Regions from separate parts of the Homo sapiens genome. Here regions 1, 3 and 4 are each linked to region 2. The links are contacts of gene promoters, found by promoter capture Hi-C in human tissues and cell types (Jung and others, 2019). All regions are on one chromosome and are shown on one strand. The core of a region is centred on a gene start or on the middle of the fragment in contact, and the rest is flanking DNA. Distances in the headings are between cores, read along the strand shown.

Region 1 (4,792 bases), core at 1,664-4,163, 450 kb after region 2:
ACTGGAAAAGGATGCTGCTCTTCTCAGTCAGGCTCAAACTTGGCTTTCGGCAAAATTCTCCTATTGCATGAGTCTTTGATGCAGAAGTGTAAGCCTTGGGAGCAGTGCCTGTGGGGGCTTTTGCCTGTTCTCCTTTCCCTGGGGCCGTGCTCTGCTGACAGGGGTGCTACAATAGGCCACGAGCAGAGTCCCCGGGGCGTCCTGGAGTGGTCAGGTCTTTGCCATTTGAGCTGTGACTTGAAGAGATTTGAGCAAGGGCACACAAATCAAATTGGGCAAGGCTGTGTGAAAGGCATGGAAGTAAACAAAAGTGGCCCCTCTCTTTTTAAAGTTTTTTTTATTAAGTTCCTAGACAATATAGGCGGTGACTGTGGCTGTATTTAAAATACTGCCTTTAGGGTGTTTTCTGGTTCTAAATTTAGGAAGCAAGGCTATTTTTGAGCTCTGTCTCTAAAAGTTGAATTCCTTTTAAAACTTACCCTTAAGAAAGATTTGGATATTATCCCGTGTGACATTTTCCCCGGTGTTTCATTTCCATTAATCAAAAGACTGTTTAGTTGAACCATTGCTAAGAATAGTAAAATCTAATGGGGAAAATAATTCTACATGATTAAATCTGACTTTACTTTCCCATTTCTAGTTGTACTGTCTGCTATTGTTTGAAAATGTCTTAATTTGCCTTTCTAATATGCCTGTACTATATTGTATACAGTAGGTATATTTTCCAGTTGCACCTAATTCAACCTTTCGAATTTGCATAATCTGTGGTAAGGAGAAAAAGTAGTTGTGTAGTGGAGTTGTACAATTCTGTTGTAAAGCAAATCTTTTTATAATTCACAAGCTGCTTCTCCTCCCCCTAGTTTGGATTTTTCTTATTAAAACTGCACCACCTAAACATGTTTTAACTTTATGGTTAAAATAACCAGTGAAATAGAAAAATAAGTCACTGTTCTGTATGATAACATGTAGAGAAGGCTTGTACAACATTTAAATAAGGAGATTTGGGTATTTGATTACAAACTGAATGAGGACATTCAGGAGCTATAGAAATTTATCAGGTAATTAGGGTTTGCTTAGACAATTATAGACTCTACGAGTTTGACCCAGTTGCTTTGGATTAAAATATTTTGAGTATTTGTCACCTGATTAAAAGTAGAACCTTCTAACTGTGAGTCACAGTTGAAGGAAATGTCAGCTTTTTATACGGGGAGGCGGTCAGTGTGGTGCTGAGGAGGGAGCCCTGGCTCCTGCTCAGAGTAGACTGTGAGTCCCAGCTCCCAGCTCGGCAGCGCTGTGACTTGGGCTGGTGACATCACATTTGAGTTTTGCAGGGTGGGGTGTGTGTGTGTGTGTGTGTGTGTGTGTGTGTGTGAGTGAGAGAGAGAGAGAGAGAGAGATCTCTAAAAGGGGCTTTTTACCCTGCAGTATTCCATTTGTTTCTTTTCTTTCTCTTCTCTCTTCTTTCTTTCTTTTTTCTTTCTTTCTTTCTCTTTTCCTTCCTTCCTTCCTTCTTTTTTTCTCTTTCTTTCTTTTCCTTCCTTCCCCTTCCCCTTCCCCTCCCCTTCTTTACATTACTTTTCTTCTTTCCAATGGGGTCTTGCTTGCCCAAGCTGGTCTTGAACTCCCATCCTTCAGCAATCCTGCCTCGGCCTCCTGAGTAGCTGGAATTACAGGTGTGAGATGGAGCCACTGTGCCTGGCTCTACTTCTGCTTACTTTGATTATCTTGGTACATGGGGCTACTAGGGTGCCTGGCATATAGCAGGTTGAGGCAGCTGTTTTTATTGTTTAATTGTATGGGAAAATATTAGCCATCACCTACTTCTTGGGCCAGTGAGGACTAAGATGATGTAGCCTGACCCGGAATCAGGAGGCTTCTCACTGAATACATGGGAAGCTTCTGCCCCTGCCTGTTTGGCTTTCAGTGCCAGCTCTAGTGCAGTTTGGGAACCAGTTTGTAAGAAAACGAACTAAGATTCGAGAATCTTACAAAATGGGTAATCGTTTGACTCATTTTACTCCGTCTGTGTTTGCAGTTCAACTGTTTTTTATTGGAAAATTGAACTCTTAATTAAATGGAACTCTGTTTCTAGTTATTGCTTCAGAACAAGGGCTTGATTTAGATTAGGACTTAGAGAAAAGGGAAAAGTAAATGCAGAGAAATTATAAATATAGTATTTTATTGAAAACAGAGTTGGGAAGAAAATGGCCTTGGGATCACTGTCCAGTTTAGTCAGGTTGGTTGAAAGGAATACCAGTGAAACTCAATTGCCTCTCGGGCTCAGCTACACAGATCTTGAAAGGAACAGATTCAGCTCTGTGCTGTACTGTGTGACTTTTCTCCTCCTGCAGATTCTATAGTAGGAAATTCTTTTAATGGAGATTACTGTTTTTCTGTTCTCCTAGATTTGGTGTGATTTTTTTTTTTTATAAGTAAAAGTTACCCCGTGGTGGACAAAATTTTTCCCCGATTTGTGGATATCTTTACTTAAATCTGATTTACATATTCAGAACGTCACCTTTATTGAAAATAACAAAAAGACATAACATATTGATAGGTTTTCTGTGTCATTGTGGTTGTTCCTCTACTACTGTGGGAATCGGTTTTTGTTTGAAGAGCACACCTGCCCGTAGTTGAACTTCTGTTGAGAAGTCTCTGAGGGAATCATTTGAATGATGGCAAGAGAATCAAGTGTTTTGCTTTCACTGATGGCTTTCTCAGTCACTGAAACTTTAGGGGAGAACGGATTCTTTCCCAGGAGGAAGAGGGTGAATTGAGATGTTTCCTTGTTTGGGGATGCCTGTGTTCTCGGGATGCCCTCCAAGCCAGCGCTGTCCAGTGGTCGTTATTGGGAGGGCGGCTCTACGCTGTGTCTATATGACACAGTACTGGAACCACGAGCCACGTGTGGCTGTTGAGTACTTGAATTGTGATTAGTGTGACTTAGGAACTAAATTTTAAATGTTACCTGGTTTGAGTAAATGAAGATAGCCACATGTAGTTAGTCACTACGGTATTGGACAGCACAACTGTAAGTACATTTACTTATCCTCTTTGTCTAGAGTTTTCTTTAAGATACGTATCACCTAGATATTTATGACAAAGTTCCTTTAAAACGATCATCTTTTAAAGATGCAAGACTCCAAATTAAAAATGATGAAAGACTCCTTCAAAAATATTCACGGCTTAGGTCACACTGTTCAGGATTATTCACTAATTTAGAAAATATTTGTTATGCTGTGATGTAGGCCCTGGCGATCCAGTGGGGATGTGACAGGCCCCATCTCTGCCCTCATGGGTGGTGATGGATACTGGACAGGTAACTGCAGTCAGGTGTGACCTTGGAGGGGACATACTGTGCATTGACTGAGGCACCAGATGGGGACTGAGCCTGTTTTGAAGGGTATTGGAAGTCCCCGGGGGCTGTGACGTTAGCACTGACACCTGAGGGTGAATAGGAGATGGCAGATAGTACTGTTCCAGGCAGAGGGAACAGCACTCATAGCAGGGTGGAGGTCTGGCTCTTGTGACAGTTTTTGGGTTATGTTCACTGGGCTACCAGAATTTAGGAGGCCTCATGGTTTTGCTTCTGAGATGGTGGAGACTAAAGGTGTGGTTCTGCCCTGCGGGGGTTGGTCGGCCCGGGATCCAGTCTTGACTCCTACCACTTCATTCTTTTATTCAGCAAATATTTAAGCACATTTTACGTGTGGGGCACCCTGCTGGGCTGTGGTGATGACAGTAGTGGCAGAAGCTGCTTCTGTCCTCATGGAACTCTGAGTTGTGTGGTGTGGTGGGTGAGCAGTCCCGTGGTGCCCACCGTGGCCTATAGCATTTCACACTCAGCTCGATGTCTGACTGGAAGGAAGTGGATGCCTCAGGCTGGGTGGTCAGGGAGGCTTGTTGGAGGAAGGACACCAGAGCTCATTGAGGGTGAGTAGAGCATCAGCTTGGGCATCTGAAGGCGAGATAACATCACCAAGGGCCTTGAATGTCAGACCTAGGAGTCCAGGTTATTATTTTTTTTTAGGGCTTATAAAACAAAATTAAGCTTTAAAAAACCCGTGTCCAGAGTGATTGGGGGAGCTCCTGTGATTTATTTTCCAGAAGTCTAGATTAGCTTTTTCAAGGTGTGTTTTTTCATCCAAGTTCAGGTCTGTAGGGAGAGTAGACAATGCTTTCCCCTCCTGAGCCCCGTTTTTGGCAGGAAAAGGGCCCCATGAAAAGCAGCTTAAGAACTGGAACTAGTGTTCTTATTTAAGATGTTAGTAAATTTTTGTACAAACAATTTTCTTTTAAAAGTTTTTTTAAGTTCTTGTGAGTAGATAATATATTCATATGGTTCAGAATTCCAAAAAAGCAGAGTAATTGGTGAAAACTCTTCCTCCTGTCTGTTTCTGGGGTCACTGGTCATTCCCCTCCCCATAGGCAACCAGTGTTAGCTGTTTCTTACGTATTCTAGAGATGGACTGTGCGTAGCCAGGCAAATATGGTCTCTTCTTACTCTTTTTGCCCTAAGTAGCCCATTTTATGTAACTCTACTATCAGTGCCTTTCAGACTGATACATATCTCAGAGCTGTTGGAAATGTTAGTATTAGAAATGCAGGCTTTGTTCTATTTTTTTAAATTTATTTTTATTTATTTTGAGACAGGGTCTCACTCTGTCCGCCAGGCTGGTGTGCATTTATTTGATCACAGCTCACTGCAATGTCCACCTTCTGGGCTCAAGCAATCCCACCTCAGCCTCCCAAGTAGCTAGGATGACAGGTGCATGCCACTATGCCTGGCTAA
Region 2 (4,400 bases), core at 593-3,092:
GGCACAGGGGGTCAGCGCTAATGGCAGCTCCGGAAAGGAGGGGGAGGAGGAAAGGCTAAGAAAAACAGGGTTGCTTCCAAGGGGTCCGCACACCCCCCAAAACACCATCCCAAGTCCCTGGCACTGTCTCCTGCTTGGCTGGCTGCAGACAGGGCCAAGTTGAGCTGGAGGTGGGCAGTGAAATGGGCCAGGCTGGAGCTTGGCAAAGGGTGTCCTGGGAGGGGCCTCCCAGGTGCAGCCCCTCCCCCTGTGCAGGCCAGGCCAGCTAGGAGGCCCAGCCTGGGCTCTGGGGAGAAGGAGAAGCAGAGGGGGAGGTCCGAGGTCACCCGGGATGGGTGTGTGGGCTGGGCCTGGACAGCTGTGGCACTGTGGCACCAGAATGGGGCTTGGGGAGGGGTGACCCAAGGGGCCAGTTTCCCCTCCCCTGAGCCCGGGGGCTGGAAGGCCCTCCGAAGCGCAGTGTCTCTGGGCTTCCTCCCCAGCCGCAGGCTGGCCCCACCTTCCCTCCAGGATGCCAGGACACGCAGGATGGCGGCCTACTACCCAGGGTGCCAGCCTCCAAGAACCATGGCCCAGGCCCTTTCCATGGCCCAGACCAAGCCCAGGCCTTGGCCAGGTCCCCAGCCGGCCTGGCTGCCCCCTCAGTGTCAAGCGTTCCCTCCAGAGCCAAGATCCTGGGCTGTGATGGCTGGGGGCCCAGGGCCCCTCCCAGCATCCCTTCCAGCTTCCCAGGCCCCAGGGCAGGGCTGGGCAACTCCTTGAAACCATTGCTTCCCGGCCACCCTCTGGCCAGGCTGGGCGGGCCCTCCTGGACAGGCAGACAGGCTGCACGCTGCCCTGCTGTGGCCCGAGTACCCTGCTGGGCAGGGCAGCATGCCAAGGCCTCCAGGTGCCAGCCTGGATTCCAGCCCCATCCCAGGGGGCCAGCGGGGAAGCTGTGCGTGCTTCTCCTCCCTCGGGATGCACCTGCCTCGCCCCCTCCTCCACCCGCTCCAGACCCGCCCTCCGGCGAGTATGGACCCCTTGCCATCTCCTCCCTGCCAGGCCGGTCGCCTGCGTCCACCCGGACCGCAGGGGAGTAACAAGTGCCTGACTTGTCCCAAACTCCCAGTCCTGACCCCCCAGGGACGCCCCTTCCCGAGGTCCAAGGAAGGACCCGGGCTTGCGAGGGGCAGCAGGAGGGAGACTCTCCCGGCCAAGGGAGGAGGCACCTTCCAAAGCCCTTCCTAGCAGCAGCCCCGGCGCGGCCGAGAGGAGGGGCGGCTGCCCCGGACAACTTCATGCCCAGGCTCCGGGTACCCCCCTCTCACCTCGCCGCACGCCCCCCACCGCGGCCGCCCAACTTCCCAGCTGAAGTTTGCGCCCGCCCCGGGCCCGGGCGCTGCTCGGCCCGGCCTCCAGACGGAGGGAAGGAAGGAGGGAGAAGAAAGACCGAGAGCTCGAGGGACCCGGCCGGGGAGCCGGCGAGGGAGGGAGCGCGCGAGCCAGCGAGCGAGCGAACGCGGGGGCCTCGGCGAGGGCTCACAATGGCCCGGGGCGCGGACGCGAGCGGGGGAGGAGACCCTCGGGCCCCGCAGCCCCGGCGCGACAGGCGGGCCCCCCCCCCCCCGCCCCGGCCCGGTCCCCACGGCGCGACGCCCGGGGGGCTTCCTACCTCAGCGGCGGGGGCGGTCGGGATCCGGGCTGCGGGCTCCGGCGGTCGGGGGGCGCGGGGAGCCGAGCGGGGGAGGGGCCGGGACGGGCGGGGGCCGGGGCGCGAGGCCTCACGGGGCGCGGGCTCCCCTGGCACGGCCGCCCGGCGCCCGGCCGCTCCGCCACATCTGCAGCTCGGGCAGGGAAGGTGGCCGCGGCGGCCGGGCCGTGCGGGGATGTCTTAGAGGGAGGGCGGGCGGGCGGGAGGAGGGAGGAGGGAGGCGGCGGGAGGAGGGCCCGCCGGCCGCGGAGGAGGGCGAGGAGGAGGGGCGCGGGGGGCGGCCTCCACCCCTCCCCTCGCTCGCTCGCTCCCTCCCTCCCAGCAAAACCCCTCTCACCGCTGCGGCCCCAGGCCCGGGGCGCCAGCTGCCAGGCGGGGCGTGCGCGTCGGGGGAGGGGGCGGCGGGAGCCGGCGCTGGGCCGAGGGAGGGGGAAGGGAGGGCGGCGCGGCCGCGGGGAGCGGGCACCGGGAGGGAGGGGTGAGGGAGGGAAGTGGGGCGCCGAGCCGCGCGCGTCCTCCTCGGCCCCATCCTCACGCCACCCCCCCCCCGCGGCCCCGCCCCCGGCCCGAGGGCAGCGCTAGGACACGGCCGGGAGGTGGCCTGGGGGGGCGGGGGAGCCCGAGACGTCCCGCCCTCGGGGAAGCCCGAGGAGGGGGCCGGGCGCGCGGGCCCAGAGGAAAAGCCCCGCAGACCGGGAAGATGGAGGAGGTCGCGGCGGCGGAGCGGGCGGGGACCCCTCGCCTCCTCCCGCGGGGTCACCTTGGCCAGGCCCCCCTGCGGCCCCGGGCGGCGGGGAAGGCGGCAGGAATGCCTCTCTGCGGGCCCTGATTTCTCCGCCCAGCCCAGTTCCAGGAACGCGCAGGCAGCGCCCGGCGGGCAGAGGTCCCGGATCCCGATGCCGGGCGGCGCAAACCAGTTTTCGGGGCCCGGCGCAACCCCTCACGCTGGTGAGACGGCGGGCGACTCCCTGCCGTGCCCTCGGTCTCAGTTTCCCTCACGGTAGAATAACGACGAGGCCCGATGCCGAGCAATCCGAGCTTCCGCTTGGTTCCTAGCTTGGTCCCAGCATTTGGGACCACCTGCGTCCACTAGCCCGAGCGCCGCGGGAGGTCTAGATCCCTCCTGGACATCAGCACCCTGCGCGGCGCCCGCGGCCAGGGCAGCGAGTGCAGTGAGCGGATACACGCGAGGGAGAAGCCCCGCACCCGGCCCAGCTGTTTTCTGCCTCGTGTTGAACCACAGACTCGCGTTCTTGAGTGTGTTTTGTTTGGGCTAATCCCGTGCCCCCCGCCCTGTTATCTTCTTGCTGCTCTGCTGTATGCTGGCAAATTGTAGTTCAAAAAAACAGCCCTCCTGCTGTTGGACACCCCCTCTTCCCAGCGCAGTTGGCCTTGAGGAGCCTAGGAGACGAAAAAGGCATCCCAGAATCAGCATCCCCTAGAGGTGAGGCATCTGACGCTGGTTTTAAGTCCGTCTTCATTCGTGCATTTGATGCTGCGGTCCCCGCCAGAGCCCGAAGCACGTGGCTCTTGATCACAAGGCATCCATGGCAGGCACAAGGCTTGGCACATAGTAGGTGCTCCTGGGCTGGTGCCCAGATGGACACATAGCAGGTGCTCATGGGTTATGTGGACACACAATCGATGCTCATTGCATTTTAAGAGAATGCACACATAGTAGGTGCTCATGGGCTGGTGCCCAGATGGACACATAGCAGGTGCTCATGGGTTATGTGGACACACAATCGATGCTCATTGCATTTTAAGAGAATGCACACATAGTAGGTGCTCAGGACGTTGTGGGTGAATGCACACATAGTAGGTGTGGACTCGTAATGGATGCTCATGTTTTGGTCTAATGAACACATATTAGGTGCTCATGACCTGTTGTGGAAATGGGCACATAGTAGGTGCGCAGGAGCTGTAGGTTGATACCTGGAAGGGATGTAGGAAGGCCGTTTGCCTGGAGCAAAGGCTCGGAAGTTGGCGATTTGGAGGTGACCTCCCCCAGCCTCCACCCTCACCTCACCCCGGTCTCCTGAGTGTGGATAATGTGGAGTGTGGCCGGGTTAAACATTAGCCGGGAGATGGGCCCCGGGGGAAGGCCAGTTTCGGGACCTAGCGCTTCCAGGAGGGGGCTATTAAGGGCCGACTCTCTGGGTCCGGCGACCTGTGCGGGCGTCCGGAAGGGCCGAGGCCGAGGCCCGCAGAGCGCCCCCTCACGGCGGCGGGAATCGCTGCGCTTCAGCCCGGAGCCCTGCCCTGCAGCCGACCGCATCCGACCTCAGGCAGGCAGAACTGCAGCCCTGGGGTCGAGGTGTGTAGAAAAAAGGTACAGGAGACGCTAGTTTAAATCTGTTAGCAAAAATGTTTATCGGTCGGGCGCGGTGGCTCATACCTGTAAGCCCAGCACTTTGGGAGGCCGAAGTGGGAGGATCCCTGGAGGCCAGGAGTTGGAGACCAGCCTGGGCAACATAGCAAGACCCCCACCTCCCACCTAGTCTCTATTATATTTTTTAAAAATTGGCTGGGCGTGGTGGCTCACGCCCGTAATCCCAACGTTTTGGGAGACTGAGGCAGGCAGATCACTTGAGGTCAGGAGTTTGAAACCAGCCTGGCCAACATGGTGAAACCCCATCCCTGCTAAAAATACAAAAATTAGCCGGGCATGGTGGTGCGTGCTTGTAATCCCAACTACTCAGGAGGC
Region 3 (4,388 bases), core at 1,457-3,956, 300 kb after region 2:
TTTTTCCTTTCTCTTCTTTCTATAATCTATTTTTCATCATCTACACTGTGTGCTTGAATCAGCACCTCTTAGAAACCTACGGATGAGCTGTTAGCTCTCTAGGGACAAGAACACGGTCTGGGACCCCCGTCCCTGCTGCAGGTGTGACCTGACCCCCTCCCTCTGCCGACGTGACCTATCCCCCTCCCTCCCGTCTGTGGCATCTGGTGCATTTGGTGCTGTCATTTCACAAATAAAAGGTGATCAGCTGGTGGTCTGTTTCAGTTCTGGTATCTTTCCCCAGCTCTCTTGTTTCATAGCCTCTTCCCATTATTTAAACTCTGCTCTGTTACAGGATTCTTAATAGTTATTGCAGACCTTCATTTCCATTTTGTTGTCTGCAACTCATTGTTGAAGTGCCATTTGTTGCTTCTGAACAGCCCATAGACACTTGGACTTGAATGCATATGACTCTCTTCTTGTGGGTCCAGATCGTCACTCACTGACTGTCCTCACATTCACAGCTGTTCTCAGGACAAGCACCGTCTTTCCCTTTTTCGGATGTCCCTGTTTACCTGAATCAACTCATTTAATCCTCACAACAGCCCTGTGCTATGATATGACCATCATATCACAGCATTTTCGTTTTCTTTTTCTTTTATTTTTTTGAGACAGGGTCTCATTCTGTCACCCAGGCTAGAGTGCAGTGGCGTGATCTCGGCTATCTGCAACCTCTGCCTCCCGGGTTCGAGAGATTTTCCTGCCTTAGCCTCCCGAGTAGCTGGGACTTACAGGCACCTGCCACCACAGCTGGCTAATTTTTGTAGTTTTAGTAGAGACAGGGTTTTGCCATGTTGGCCAAGCTGGTCTTGAACTCCCGACCTCAAGTGATCTGCCCACCTCGGCCTCTCAAAGTCCTGGGATTATAGGCGTGAGTCACCGCGCCGGCCAGCATTTCCATTATCTAGACAAGGGAACTGAGGTCAAGCATTGGAGTGAAAGTCACCTAGGTGGCTTTTTTTCTTTTTTAACCTATTTATTTCTTTCAACCCTTAGCCCAGATCCTAACCTTCGGTAAGTACTCAGTAAACATTTAGTCTGCTGGGTGCATGAACGAGCGAATGAGCAAATGAATGACAGCGATAGCACCTGGTGGGCTGTTCGCTGGTGTGCTGGGTGTGCTGGGTGTGCTGGGTGTCGTCTCTCAGAGACTCATTTCTACAGTCTTTGTGAAGGCTCGTGCTAGTAAACCCTAATTCAAGAGGTTTCTTAGAGGTGGGAGGCGAAGGTCTCTGAAGTGTGTGGACTCCTGGACTCTCCCTATGTTAGCATTCTGGAATGTAGCATTTAGCAGTGGGGCATTTATTAACTCGGAATACAGAAGATAAGAAGCCAAGCCAGGCACGGTCGCTCACGCCTGTAATCCCAGCACTTTGGGAGGCTGAGGTGGGCGGATCATGAGGTCAGGAGATCGAGACCATCCTGGCTAACACGGTGAAACCCCATCTCTACTAAAAATACAAAAAAAATTAGCCAGGCATAGTGGTGGGTGCCTGTAGTCCCAGCTGCTCGGGAGGCTGAGGCAGGAGAATGGCGTGAACCCGGGAGGCAGAGCTTGCAGTGAGCTGAGGGAGCCACTGTACTCCAGCCTGGGCCACACAGCGAGACTCTGTCTCAAAAAAAAAAAAAAAAAAAAGGCCAAAACAGGGGAATGTGGTCACTCAGGGGATGCCTGTCATTCCCATTTGGCTGTGATGGCAGCTGTTTAGCCATTACTGGGAGAGAGAGGGAAGCTGGGTATAGAAGGTACCTGTTTAGAAGCAGGGGTGGGGAAGCGGGAGGGAGAGAGAGAGAGAATGCGTGCACATGCTCTAAAATTTTATTTTCTGGCTGGGTGTGGTGGCTCACGCCTTTAATCCCAGCACTTTGGGAGACAGAGGCAGGCGGATCATTTGAGGTCAGGAGTTCGAGACCAGCCTGTCCAGCATGGCAAAACCCCCTCTCTGCTAAAAACACAAAAATTAGCCAGGCATGGTGGCACACACCTGTAATTCCAGCTACTCAGGAGGCTGAGGCAGGAGTATTCCTTGAACCCGGGAGGCGGAGGTTGCAGTGAGCTGAGATCGCGCCACTACGCTCCAGCCTGGGCAACAGAGCAAGACTCTGTCTCAAAAAAAAACAAAAAAATTTTTTTTTGGTTAAGCAGAAGATCAAATTAAACAGGCAAGGTGCCTACCCTTTGTTTCTTTCACTTTCTTCCATAAATCCATCTCATATTTTATTATTTGGGACTTCTTTTTTTTTTTTTTTCTTTTTTGAGACAAAGTCTCACTCTGTCACCCAGGCTGGAGTGCAATGGTGCGATCTCGGCTGACTGCAACCTCCGCCTCCTGGGTTCAAGCAATTCTCCTGCCTCAACCTCCTGAGTAGCTGGGATTACAGGCATGTGCCACCACGCCCAGTTAATTTTTGTATTTTTAGTAGAGACGGGATTTCGCCATGTTGGCCAGGCTGGTCTCAAACTCCTGAGCACAACTGATGCTCCCGTCTCGGCCTCCCTAAGTGCTGGGATTACAGGAGTGAGCTACCGCGCCTGACCTGGGACTTCATTTGTTAAGAAGAGGTTAAGTTTCACCAGCAGCCATTTGTAGTAGGAACTTGAGATTTATCATCAAATATTGGGACAACAAGAACAAATCAGTTCTTATGATTATTTATGGTGCATATGAGTAGGAAGGACTTACAACCCTCCGGAGAGCATTTTAATGTTAACATATGAAAGATATTCTCTCTTTTGTACCAAAACTTTTGTTCTTCTTACGCAGAAAGAATAGATAATTATAAAATATATCTATGACTCCATAGGCTTTGGCTATTTGGTAGATTAAGAGTATTTTTATCTTTATTTTTCTTATTGGCTGATTACAGTTTAGTTTAAATAACTCTCATGCCGCTTGGTCGTTTCCGACCTAGTCGTGAGGAAGAATGCAATGCAAAGTGAAAGACGTTTTTGGAATGTTTCTGAACCAGCCCAAGCTGATTGCCTCTTTTCTGTTTATTGTTTTAAGTCATAAGTGACGTAAGCTTCTAGGCATTTGTTATGCTATGTGGCTGGCTCCCAAAGTCATGTCTTAAAACATTCTTTCCTTCCTGATTATTCTTCTCTTTCTTGTTTTTCTTTTCTTCTTTTTCTTTTAATTTTTTTTTCTTTTTTGAGACGGAGTTTCACTCTTGTTGCCCAGGCTGAAGTGCAATGGCACGATCTCAGCTCACTGCAACCTCCGCCTCTCAAGTTTAAGCGATTCTCCTGCCTCAGCCTCCCAAGTAGCTGGGATTTACAGGCGTGTGCCGCCACGCCTGGCTTGTTTTTCTTTTTCTTTTTTTTTTTGAGACAGGGTCTCACTCTCTTGCCCAGGCTGGAGTGCAACGGCGCACTCACAGCTCACTGCAGCCTCAACCTCCCGGGCTCAAGTGATCCTCCCATCTTAGCCTCCTGGGTAGCTGGGACCACAGGTGCCACCACACCCAGCTGATTTTTAAATTTTTTATAGAGATGGGATCTCGCTATGTTGTCCAGGCTGGTCTCAAACTCCTGGGCTCAAGTGATCCTCCTGCCGCGGCCTCCGAGAGTGCCGGGGTCACAGCTGTGATCCCCGTGCCTCGCTGTTGTTCTCTTTCTGTTGAGTTGGCAGTCAGGTCCTTGATTCTTGGTGGCTGAGGGTATCTCAGTCCAAGGCAAGAATCCCACAGAAAGAGACTGGGACAAATGAGGCCAGAAATGGGCCTCGCCCATCACTCTTTTCCAAAATGGGCTTTGTCAGTCACTCTTCCTATACTTGGGTCACCAAACCTGATCACCACTATGTGCAAAGTGCAGTTTTAGTTTTCAAAGAAGTGACACTATACTTAAGAATACTTAAGAACGTTAACTGCGTTAACCTCCACGCACACAGCCATAGACAAATTCCCCCGTCAGACAGGAGCCCATTAGGAAATGCCCACCCCTCTCTGTAGCCTTTGTAAAATTAAGCTGATAAAAGACATCGCTGTTGTTGAGGTTTAAAATCAATGGATAACCAGGAAAGAATATAAGAAATCATATTAATTATTCTCCTGTTTACACTACACTTAAATCATTTAGCTGTCTTTTTTTTTTTTTTGGACCTTCTGCTGCAAAAGAGCCATTCTAATGAACTTGGACCCCAGGGTCCATGTGTGTGGTTATTCATTAAATCATGTCGCCTGCAGAGTCTCCTGACTTAAGACTTTCGCTGGGCTTGAACTCAGTAACCTGTCCTGATGTATTTCTCAGGCGTTTGTGATTAGGCAGCTGGGCTCTGCCTTACCTGTCAGGGTGATAACCCTTCTGGTTCTGACAAAAGGTTTCACTTTAAATTTAGCTTTCCATA
Region 4 (4,673 bases), core at 1,674-4,173, 360 kb after region 2:
AGGCAGAGGTTGCAGTGAGCCCTGAGATCGCGCCACTGCACTCCAGCCTGGGCAACAGAGCAAGACTCCGTCTAAAACAAACAAACAAACAAACAAACCTAAATGAAGGACATCCGTAGACTTCTAAAGTCCTCATCCAACCTGATGCCTGGAGACTGGGTTTTGTTTTGGCTTCTTTTTGAATATTGAAGAATGTCATTTATGTGAACTTTCAGGACATTAATTCAATTAAGAGCTAAGAAGATAAGGTGCAACTGTTTTATGTATTTATTTTATAGAGATGAGGTCTCACTATGTTGCTCAGGCTAGTCCTAAACTCCTGGCCTCAGGTGGTCCTCTCTCCTCCACCTCCCAAAGTGCTGGGATGACAGGCGTGAGCCACCTCGCCTGGTCCAACTACTTTTTTTTTTTTAATGAGAGACATTTGAGGCAATTTTTGACGTAATTTTGGATAAAAGCATGCCTTTTTCCTAAAATATTTCAAATGAGACAAAATGAATTTATTGTATGAATCAGACCGTGACCCAAATTCTTCTGGGTCACTATTTACTTTTCTTACACAGCCAGTACCAGGGTCCACTTTCTCTTCTTTTCAGCCCCTCATTTCCAAGTTCCCCCGTCTCTTCATTCACCTGTCTGTTATACTGGCAGAATGATGACAGGCTCAGACCTGCGTGCTTTGAGAGAAAATCTAGCATGTTCTAGTACGCTAAGTTTGTGGCATGACATGTAGGCGTGTCCCCCTCAGCCTCTACCTCGGGATAGTTAACAAAACTCCAAAAGAGTTGGCTGTGTTCCCAACCAATGGCTCTGTCACTGCCTCACACACAGGGCCTCCCCATCTGTGTCCACAGTAATCATCGCTGTGGATGGCTCTGCCAAGAGCTCCCCTGTGTGGACTCCAGTGTTGCGGCTGCTCTGAGATGGCCTCTTCCTTCCCTTACTCCTGCAAAGCAGCAACCTCCCAGCATCAACGTGCGATGCTGGCCCTCAGCCGGCCCCCTTGGCTTCTTGGTGAACCTCGTGTTCCGTTTCTGACGCTTTTCCTGGTCTGGACCCTACTCACTGGCCCAGAGGGAGACACTCCTAGCCATTCCCTGTAAGCTGCCACTAAGTCCCGGAGGTCCCTTCTGGTTTCAGCACCAGGCAGCTGCCCGAGCTGCGAGCTGGGAGTTCTGGGCCTGATCCCGGCTCAGAAAGAGGAACTTCATCCATTCGCTCCTGGGCTGGCCCAGCAGCAGCACGCCAGGCTCTCAGACCAGTGTGGGGCCCAGAGAGCCCCACCCAATCCCACCAATTGGAATTAGGGGAGGGCAGGGACAGAGCAGAGGACAGGCTGGGAATGCCCAGAAGAGTGGATGTCGAAGCATCGTCGTTCACCAGGACCCAGTGTCTGCAAAGCTCAGCTCCCAGCCTGCCCCGGCCAGCTCAGCGACGCCCGTCCTGCAGCTCTGCATGTCAGAAGCCACTGGACGGGGTGCGTCAGTGGGGCCTCTGGGTACATCCTCCTCACCCTGCAGCATTAAACCAAAGTGCTAATGATAACACCCAGATGAGTGCCAAGTGGAAAAATCAGAGCCTTACCATCCTCTGTGAAATCCTGAGTCAGTTTCACGCTTTGTAGGCATTTTAGGATTCAGCCATCCGTGAGATGATCCAGTTATTCCAATCAAATTCCACCTTCTCAATCCATGCAGCAATCCTCACACCAAAAACCATTCTGGGAGGCGTAAGAGCTGTGACGCGGCTCTGACAGCGACCTCCCCGTGCTGATGGTCACTTTGTCCCCACAGGTTGCCAGAACCTGATGTTTTTGCTGTTCGTGGTGTTGGATGGCTGCAAAGGGGTGACGGCGGTTCAAGCAGGCTTCTGACTTGTCCGTCGTATCCCAAAACCGGCGTTTTTTCCACACACACTGGCTGAAGCTTCCTACCTGTGGGCTTGGGAGCTTGCTAGTCACAGAATAAGGAAATCCACAGGTGTTAAAGAATCCGTCCATTCCAAAAGCGTGGATGGTTTTTTTTTAATCATCATGTTTTCTAGAAATTGCTCGGTTTTTATTTCTTTCCTCCCCTCTAACCCTCTTCTTATCCGCATTTTCCCATCTTCTCTTTTCCAGAAGACGAGAACCCTGTGGAGAGGGAGACTCCAAGTTTCCCTTCAGTTCACAGGAAGAGAGTTGCCGTGCAGGAGCCTAATTGTAAATTTGAAAAAATTAAAAACTGCTTATGCTCTGTCAATTACCAAAACGAGGAAGGACTGTATCTGTGAAATACGTATATATTTTTTGAGATGGAGCCCCGCTCTGTCGCCCAGGCTGGAGTGTAGTGGCGCGATCTCGGCTCACTGCAACCTCTGCCTCCCAGGTTCAAGTGATTCTCCTGCCTCAGCCTCCCAAGTAGCTGGGACTATAGGCACAGGCCACCACGCCCAGCTAATTTTTGTATTTTTAGTAGAGATGGGATTTCGCCATGTTGGCCAGGCTGGTCTCGAACTCCTGACCTCAAGTGATCCGCCCACCTCAGCCTCCCAAAATGCTGGGATTACAGGCATGAACTGCTGTACCCGGCCTGGTTGTTGCATTTTAATGTACTGAGCCAAGCACCAGGCTCCAGGGACACTGCTACTAGGTGGCCTGTCCTTGGCTCTGATGCAGGCGCTTCCAGGAAGAATGGGCTGCAGCTCTGTGCAGCCTGCCTGTGCTGGGCCAATGTCAGCTCCCCTTGCTCGAACAGGATTGGCCAGAACACGCCCTGTGCCTGCGAGCAGCCTTGAATGCCACTGGGGATTTGAGGTTTAGGCGTCCCGTTCCTTGAGCAGGAACCTCTGCAGAAAGGCAATTAGAAGAACAAAGTGCCCTCTCCCTGACGGTCTGTCTCCCTCACACCAAAAAGGAAGGTGAAGCTTCCTTTTTAAGGAGACCCCTTTTTAAGAACCACGGGGTAGCTGTGGTGGTTCACGTCTATAATCCCAGTGCTTTAGGAGACCACAGTGGGAGGATCACTTGAGCCCAGGAGTTTGGAACCAGCCTTGGCAACAGGGGTTGGAGGCTGCAGTGAGCTATGATCATGCCACTGCACTCCACCCTGGGCAACATAGTGAGACCCCATCTCTACAAATGATATAAAAGGCACCTGGGGGTGGTGGTGCGTGCCTGTGGTCCCAGCTATTCAGAAGCCTGAGGCAGGAGGATCGCTTGAATCCAGGAGTTCAAAGCTGCAGTGAACTGTGATTGTGCCATTGCACTCCAGCCTGGGCACCAGAGCGAGACCCTGTCTCTTAAAAAAAAAGAAGAAGAAGAAACATGTATGAGATAGAGCGCTGCAAATCTGGTTCCAACTTTCTCTGTGATTTTGCTGGAATTTGTTCAACACTGAGCTCACAGACAGCAGTGAACCAAAACTTGTTTTCTTTGGACTGCTTTGAGCAAAAATAGAAGAAAGGGGCTCATTTTTTTCCAGTGATTTTTTATTTTTCATCAATAGTGCAGATCCAAAGTAAGTATTTATTCACTGGCCTGATTTCCCAATCTTTTAACTTAGAAGTATGATTGCCAGTTTCCTAGGTTTTTAAGAATACGCTGAAAACAAGCTGCCAAGCTTAGGAGCCGAGAACCATAGAAAGTTCTGTCCATGTGCTTGGATCAGATTTCCAGCACAAACTGTGATGTGTACATCGCTTAACTCGGAGTCTGACTTTTGTTAGCTGTTGTTGGATGAACAGGTGTGTGCAGCGGATGAGTAACATGATACAAAGAGAGGTTGTACTTCCGCTGGGAGGAGAATGGGCATTTGGGTTTTTGTTGTTGTTGTTGTTTAATTTCAGCCCAACTGTTTAGAAAGAAAATTCTTGCTGTCTTTACCACTTTGTGCTGCACAGGGAGGTGGGAAGGAGGATGTTAGACGTGCGTATTAACAAATGCTCTTATGGCTACATTTTTTGGTCCATGCAAAAAAAAAAAAAAAAAAGTTCGTCTTTTTTTTATCCAGTTATCAAACTTGTGTAAAAATAAGAAAGTATATCCTTAAATAGAATTGTGCCCTGGAAGGAACCCAGATGGCTCTCTTGAGATTAAAATAGTCATCCCAGCCGGGCACGGTGGCTCATGCCTGTAATCCCAGCACTTTGGGAAGCCAAGGCAGGAGGACTGCTTGAGGCCAGGAGTTTGAGACCAGCCTGGCCAACATGGTGAAACCCCCTCTTTACTAAAAATAACAAAAATTAGCTGGGAGTGGTGGTGGGTGCCTGTAATCCCAGTGACTCGGGAGGCTGAGGCAGGACAATCACTTGAACCCAAGAGGCGGAGGTTGCAGTGAGCCGAGATCACGCCATTGCACTCCAGCCTGGGCAACAAGAGCGCAACTCCGTCTCAAAAAAAAAAAAAAAAAAACTTAGGGACATCATTCTCAGTTTTTTTTAAAGGGTACTAGTTTTAGTTTTGATTTACCAATTTATGTTTCCGAGACGTTTTTTCAATGAAGTGAGTCACTTTTGAACTATTGTGAGGCACTCATTCTAATTTCATGGCTCTCAGTTTACAGGAACATAACATTTGATGCCAATGAAATTCATTAGAATTCTGCGCTATCCTGTGAACTGCGTGCCCATCTGTCTTGTATGTGTTTCCAGGGGTGGCTTACAATGGTCTTCGCCATGTACTGGATGGACGTGTA

Evidence for each region. The method cuts DNA at HindIII sites, captures the fragments that hold promoters and counts their contacts. A contact is called where the count stands out against the background at its distance.
Region 1: a contact is called between a fragment that was not itself captured here and the fragment with the promoter of GLIS2 in region 2, in 2 of the 25 tissues and cell types used here (dorsolateral prefrontal cortex and heart left ventricle).
Region 3: a contact is called between a fragment that was not itself captured here and the fragment with the promoter of GLIS2 in region 2, in 2 of the 25 tissues and cell types used here (aorta and stomach).
Region 4: a contact is called between a fragment that was not itself captured here and the fragment with the promoter of GLIS2 in region 2, in 4 of the 25 tissues and cell types used here (IMR-90 fibroblasts, aorta, dorsolateral prefrontal cortex and 1 more).

What each region holds. Positions count from the first base shown.
Region 1 is chr16:3,867,780-3,872,571 of GRCh38, reverse strand. The region is part of intron 1 of CREBBP (CREB binding lysine acetyltransferase); the gene reads left to right. Among named protein-coding and RNA genes, the nearest start is that of CREBBP, 11 kb to the left of the region's middle. RefSeq lists silencers at 1-164, 1,070-1,364 and an enhancer at 1-533. The HindIII fragment of the contact is 4,672 bases long and covers 578-4,792 here.
Region 2 is chr16:4,313,509-4,317,908 of GRCh38, reverse strand. It overlaps GLIS2 (GLIS family zinc finger 2), which reads right to left and starts at 1,842. Exons shown (of 7, transcript NM_032575.3): 1 at 1,655-1,842. RefSeq lists enhancers at 1-580, 2,702-3,214, 3,215-3,727 and a silencer at 3,007-3,301. The HindIII fragment of the contact is 26,266 bases long and covers 1-4,400 here.
Region 3 is chr16:4,012,227-4,016,614 of GRCh38, reverse strand. The region is part of intron 2 of ADCY9 (adenylate cyclase 9); the gene reads left to right. Among named protein-coding and RNA genes, the nearest start is that of TRIDDENT, 64 kb to the right of the region's middle. RefSeq lists a silencer at 1,033-1,327 and an enhancer at 4,227-4,388. The HindIII fragment of the contact is 9,071 bases long and covers 1-4,388 here.
Region 4 is chr16:3,950,963-3,955,635 of GRCh38, reverse strand. It overlaps a transcript of ADCY9 not described here. Among named protein-coding and RNA genes, the nearest start is that of TRIDDENT, 2.9 kb to the right of the region's middle. The HindIII fragment of the contact is 4,154 bases long and covers 847-4,673 here.